Linked DNA regions of Homo sapiens: region 2 is linked to region 1. The links are contacts of gene promoters, found by promoter capture Hi-C in human tissues and cell types (Jung and others, 2019). All regions are on one chromosome and are shown on one strand. The core of a region is centred on a gene start or on the middle of the fragment in contact, and the rest is flanking DNA. Distances in the headings are between cores, read along the strand shown.

What was found. The method cuts DNA at HindIII sites, captures the fragments that hold promoters and counts their contacts. A contact is called where the count stands out against the background at its distance.
Region 2: a contact is called between a fragment that was not itself captured here and the fragment with the promoter of C14orf180 in region 1, in 1 of the 25 tissues and cell types used here (lymphoblastoid cells).

Annotation. Positions count from the first base shown.
Region 1 is chr14:104,578,490-104,581,651 of GRCh38, reverse strand. C14orf180 (chromosome 14 open reading frame 180) reads right to left here and starts at 1,888. Exons shown (of 5, transcript NM_001008404.3): 1 at 1,649-1,888. The HindIII fragment of the contact is 18,385 bases long and covers 1-3,162 here.
Region 2 is chr14:104,356,950-104,359,915 of GRCh38, reverse strand. No RefSeq gene overlaps it. Among named protein-coding and RNA genes, the nearest start is that of LINC02691, 130 kb to the right of the region's middle. The HindIII fragment of the contact is 6,801 bases long and covers 1-2,966 here.

The DNA of each region.
Region 1 (3,162 bases), core at 639-3,138:
CTCTCTCTCTCTCTGCCCCTGCCCACCTGGGCTCCTGCTGGTGCTGTACCTCCGGGGTGGCTCAGGCCTGATCAGCCCCGAGATCCACTGGCGGTCACAGCCTCGCTGTCGCAGGGTGTGAACCAGAGCTGTTGCGGCTCACAACCAGCTGAGAAGTTTCCATTACGGCGACACTGAGCAGTGGCCTCAGCGGCCCTGAGGGCCCCGGCTGACTTGCTGCTCTCGGGACAGCCCGGTCCATGGGGAGGCCGTCAACCACGGGCTTGGTGGCCCCAGGAGGAGCTGGGCCTCCTCAGTCTCCCAGCACCTTAGTAGTTTGGCCACAGGCCTAACCCAATGGCCCTGGGGCTGCAGATGCAGGTTGTGCCTTCTTCCGGTGGAAGAAGACTGGGACCATGGACACTGCCTCGCTGGCCTTTCCTCTGCAGGGCGGAGGCAGAACACAGCCAGGCGGGGTGGCTGGGCTCCTGGGAAAAGCCTTGGCTCCCAGCCCAACGCTCACCACTGGAACCACGCTGGCAGCTCCCCAGACAACATGCGTTCTCGACTTAAGTAAGAGGGAGAACTTGTGGGGAGGCCCCTGGCTGGGCTGACCGCCCACTGGGCTTGCTCAGGTGCCTGCAGGCCCTACCAGGTAGGAACAGGAGCAGGAGCTGCCTGGTGGCCCCCTGAGGCCCCTCTCCATGCCTAGATGGGCCCTCACATCCCGAGGTGCAGTTAGGGCTCGAGGTAGCAGCAGTACCGGGTGATGGCTGCTCATCTGCTGGGTGCAGGGGCCACCCTAGGCCTCGAGAGCTCCAGACAGACAGGGCGGGGGACCCCCCCAGGCCCTTCCTCCCATATGTGGAATGGGGGCTGTTTGCCAACTGTCCAGGGCACTGCAAAGCTCAGTAGTGCCCAAGAAATGGCGTGGCGTCCAGTGCTGGGTGGGGGTCCCATGGCCACACAGGGCAGGACAGGGATTCCTTCTGACTGACGGCTCAGAAAAGAGCCAGTTCTCAGGGATTCCCAAACACTGAGAACTAGGCTTCAGTTACTGGAGTAACGAATCCATTCCTGCTAGGCTGGGCCTGCGTAGACTTGCCCTCGGAGGATGCCCCCCACCAAGGCCCTTCAGGGAAGGCTGGCTGGGTTCATGCCTGGCACGGCTGCCTGCATTCCCCTGAGAGTGCAGCCCCTTCTCCCACTGCCCAGGCTGTTTCGCGCAACATCAGGTGCCCTTTGGAAGCTCCTGTGTGGCCAGGAGCACCCCCGCTGCTAAGTTTGAAGTGGCCGTGTTCCCTGCTTCCCCCAGAGGCGGCCTGGCCTCAGTGTGGACACAGGGCCGGCCTGGGACTGTCTCCGTTTTAGGGAAACCATCAGTCCCAGGAGAAGGGGGAAGGGTGGCCACTCTGGAGCTTGTTCAGGTCACTCAGGATCATCAGTGTGTGCTCTGCCCAGTCTCTGCCCACACCTGCTGCCCAGCTGGGGCAGGTTCCCCACCTGCACCTGCCTTTGGCAATCTCTCCGCTCTGCCCAGTCTCTGCCCACACCTGCTGCCCAGCTGGGGCAGGTTCCCCACCTGCACCTGCCTTTGGCAATCTCTCCGCTCTGGCATCTTCATACCCAAGCAGGAAGTGAGCCCCCTCTCCCTGGGGCTGGAACTCACCTGGTTCCCTCCTGGCTCCCCGAGGGACAGAAACAGGCTCTTCGGGATCTCCCTGTGGGGCACAGTCCAGTGAGGTCCTGGACCCTCTTGGCCGGCAGCACCCCTCCCAGGCCCTTGAGAGTTGAGCCTCGGGCAGAACTGCAGGGCACACAGGTGAACGGGCCAGGCCCGCCCAGGCCTCCTTCCCGAGGGCTCTGATCTGGAGGCGCCACCGCCCGCTGGCAGGGCCGGGTCTGTTGTGGCCTTCGTCCCGTCTCCAGCCCTCTCTGCTGGATCGCAAAGCTGGGCCAGCTGGCAGCGGCCAGGCTATAATTACCTCTCCCCTTTGGCAGAAATAGCAGTGAACCCGAGGACAGGCCGCTGGCCCCGGAGCAGAAGGGGGTGGCTGTTTCCCAGGCCCCCGGTGGACAACAGACCATGATTTCAGATAAGACCAGAGTTTGCTGCTGTTCCTACCCCTCCCGGCCCAAATGTGCCCCCTCCCAGGTCAATTCCAGAGCTGTGCAGCTCTTGGAAAAACCTATGGATTGGAATTCGGGGCAGAGTGGGAGAGGGAGGGCACTGTGGGGCTGCGGGAGGTGAGGTGATCACAGAGTCCAGCCTCCAATAAGACCCTGACCCAGCATGGGGCCTCCGTGGTGGCGAGAGTGCCCGCCCTGCCCCAGGCCCCTGTGCCCCTGTGAGTCCTGACCTGGGGTTGCCAGAGGGAGAGGCAAAGAATGGGTCCCAAGCTGCCGTTTTGGGGCACACTGGCCGACCCTCGATATTGCCCTGGCAGGAAGGGGCAATGTATGGGTCAGTGAGCGATGGCAGGGGTGAGGGATCAGCCTTTCTCAGGGTCTGTCCTGGGTGGGCGTCCAACTGCCCTGCCTGGCGCTGCTGAGTCTGCCCCTCATTTGTAGGTGAAAGTGCAGCTCAGAGAGTTGAGGCACCCTGTCCAGAGTCACACAGCCCGGAGGTGGTAGCCTGGCTCAGGCTTGGTGGCCCGTCCTCGCCAGCCCCCCCGTCTGCTGGTGCATGTAAAGGCAGGTCTGAAAGAGGCTGGTGAGGGCATCACTGGCGCAGGGCACCACCACATGTGGGCAGACCCCTGCCTGGTTTGTGGGGCTTTGACCTGTTTCAGGGGACTGCTGGAGGAGGTGTGGAGAGACCCGTGTTTCTCCATTAGGAATGGGGGTGCATCTCCCTTGGGTAAAGCTACAGGACCCCTGGGAGCCCAGGGTGTGCCAGGCTGGGGGACAGTGTGCACAGAGGGTGACTGCTCAGGGCCAGCCGTGGGGCTGCATGGACACAGAGTCCTGGAACCCACCGTCAGAGCATGAGCAACGCAGCCACTGGGATGGGGTTCAGCAGACCGGCCCTCCCCTCACTGCCGTCTTCAGTACAGGGCATGGGGGAGCAAACTTTTCTCTTACAGGGCCATATGGCACACAGTGCGCTCTGTGTCTACACAAACGGGGTGGGCCAGATTGGCAGGAGGGCCTTGGCTCGCTGACGCTTGTTCCAGGGAGAGC
Region 2 (2,966 bases), core at 261-2,760, 220 kb after region 1:
GTGCAAGGGAACCATGGGCACGAGCTGGAGGGGCTGATGGGCCAGATGATGAAAGACCTCGGGAGCTCCAGGCCAGGTTGTGGGTCCACTGTCCCCTCCGGGTCCCTGCAGTGTGAATGGCCGTGTTTTGCAGGAGGGCTGCAGGGATGGTAGCTGCTGTCTATCTGGGAGCCACAGCAGGTGCTGGAGCCGGGGAGCCAGGAGAGTGGCTTGCACCATCTGGGCCTCTGCATGGTGGTGTGAGGGCTTAAGGTCAGGGCTGGGGGCCGGAGGCAGGGGGAGCTGTCAGGACAGGCTTCCCAGGCCTTGAACCCAACCTGATGCTGCAGACTCCCAACCTCTGGCCCAGATGGACACACATGGTTCTGCCTTCTAGGAGCCTGTGTCATGGCCACCAGCTGAGCTGGGGCCCAGACCTGCTTGCCGGACCTCACTCATTGGCCGTTCATCCCACAGGCTGCCCCATGTGGCCGGCAAACACACAGCTGTCCTCGCCCCTGCAGAGCCCCCAAAATCTCTGAGGAGGCACTGTACACCCGGAGGACAGGGGACAGAGTGGGTTTCCAGGCAGAGCGGAAATAAATGAATCCAAAACACAGCCCCGGACAAGATACCTCCCGCGGCCCCCCAGGCACGCGACCCCACTGCAGCTGCCCTCCCCAGCTCTGCCAGGGGCCGAGGGCCCCATGGGGGACCCTCTGGAAGCAGGGATGGCCCAAGGCCACTGCCCACTGAGAGGCTGCTTAGACGAGGGCAGGGAGCTGGCTGGCCCGGCAAGGGAGGGCATGTTCCCCATCCACTCAGCTACCTCGGCCCCAGGAGGAGGGGAGCTGGGGGCACAGGAGCTGGCACATCCCCACCTGACACCAGGTCCTCTCATCCCAGTGATGGCCCTGGAGGAAGCCGCTGAGCCCTCAGAACAGCAGGTCATCCTGAGTCCAGCATGGAGCCCTTGGAGCCGCAGGTCCGCCTGAGTCCAGCATGGAGAATGAGGCACTCCTTCATCCCTGCTTCCTGGACTTTCCATGGAGGTCACACTTCTGGTGAAGGGAGAGCCACCACCCTGTCACCACGATTCCAGTGGGCCAGGCCACTGCCCCCAATTCCAAGGCAAGAAGCAAATGTCAGGGGCCAGGGCCAGAGCCCAACACCAGGCTCATTCCTCTCAAGAGTCCACCCAGTGCCAAGTGAGCCCCTGCCCGGCCTGGCATCCCAGAGCAGGGTGCTCATCCCATGGCACAGATGGGAATGCCAAAGCCCACAGAGAGGCCCTGGCCCCCCACTGCCCTGTGCCCCCACCTCCTCATGCTCCTGAAAGACCTGGCCCGTGCCTGCAAGCGCCTGCCTCGGCTCCCAGACGAGAGGCTTGTCCTGCCACTCTCGTGCTCAAGAGCCACCCATGGCTCCCAGTGCCTGGTAAGCAGGTGGGGAGCACGAAGCCCCGTGTGCCCGCCACTCTCTGTACAGATGCTGATTTCCTCTGCACTCTGGGTTGTCTCCTTCCACACTGACAGCTGTGAGTTACTCCAGTATCCTCCCACATTTGCGGCTAAAGATCTATGATCATCAGATCCCCAAAGCCAGCGTCCCAGTTGTTCTGTCTGGACTTCAGGGAGGCCCTGGCACGCTGAGTCTGTGCCCAGTCCATTGTCGGCTCAGCCATCGTCAGTGTATTCTCCGCCCATGGAGTGCGCTAGGCCCATGGCCACTGTGCGGTGCCTTGCCTGGGGCTGATTCTATACAGAGCTTGACGGAAGCTTCCAGACTGGTTAATTACGGTCCTACCAAGTGGAGACAGGCTTCTCACCACTGCAGGACAGTGGCCCTGGGCCGAAGGAGTCCTGCGGCCTGTGTGGCGTTTAGTGACTGGCACACGGGTATGTAGGGACACTTCCAGGACGGGTTCCTGCACCGCCCACGCTTACCAGGGCTCTCACCTCCTGGGACTGCAGCGCTCTGCTGCGGCAACACTGTCCCTGCTCTAGTTTCCATCCAACTCCAGAGCTGCGGCACTGCAGGAGGCCTCTCCAGGGGCAGAGACGTGGGTCTGGGGTCCGGGGTCCAAGCCCAAGCCTGCCACTTCCCGGCCACACGTGGGCCTGGACTTTCACTCGCCCACAAAGCCAGGGTTCTGATGCTGCCCACAGGGCTACCGAGGTAGACATGATCCACGTAAGCCTCCGAGCACTGGCCAGCACGCAGTAGGTCCTCAAAATATGTGGCTCGAAGAACGTGCTCAGGAAGCTGGACCACGAGTGTCAGGCTGCATCCGCTGGGGCCCTGAGCCCTGCTATAGGACAGCCCCGGCCCTTGCAATTCACACTTGGCCCTCCTAGCTCTCGGCTCCTGTGGCCACACTCTCACTCTTGGGCCCTGTCTTTGACGGTGACCGCCCTCCAGCCAGTGCTTGGGTCTGCCGTGTCGTTCATTCCTGCATTCCCTTCTCTGGTGTTTTCCCTGTGCTACCAAGGACCAGGCCCTGGGGTCTCGGGAGCAAGACAGACGGGACCAGAGATGGTGATTGAGGCGCCCAGACCAGCATCTGCCTTGCTCCCCTGTGACCGCTGCATCAAACGTCTGCAGGCCGGGAGCTTACACTAGAAGTGCATTTTTTCAGGGCCTGGAGGTCAGAGGTCTGAAATCAGGCTGCCAGCAGGGGTGGCCGTCCACCACGAGTGCAAACCCCACAGAGCCTCCAGCCGCCCTGGAGGAGACTCACCCTCTGCTCCCTCTGGAGGCTCCAGGAGAGGCTGCTTCCTGCCTCTCCCAGCTTCCAGTGGCCCTGGGCACCCTTGGCTTGTGGCCACATCCTTCCAGTCTCTGCTTCCATCTTCACAGGGCCTCCTTCTCTGTGTCCAATCTCCCTCGGCTTTCCTTGTGTAAGGACACACGCCAGCCGTGGGATTTAAGGCCCACCCAGACGATCCAGGACGACCTCACCTCGAGATCCTTCACTCAAAGACCCT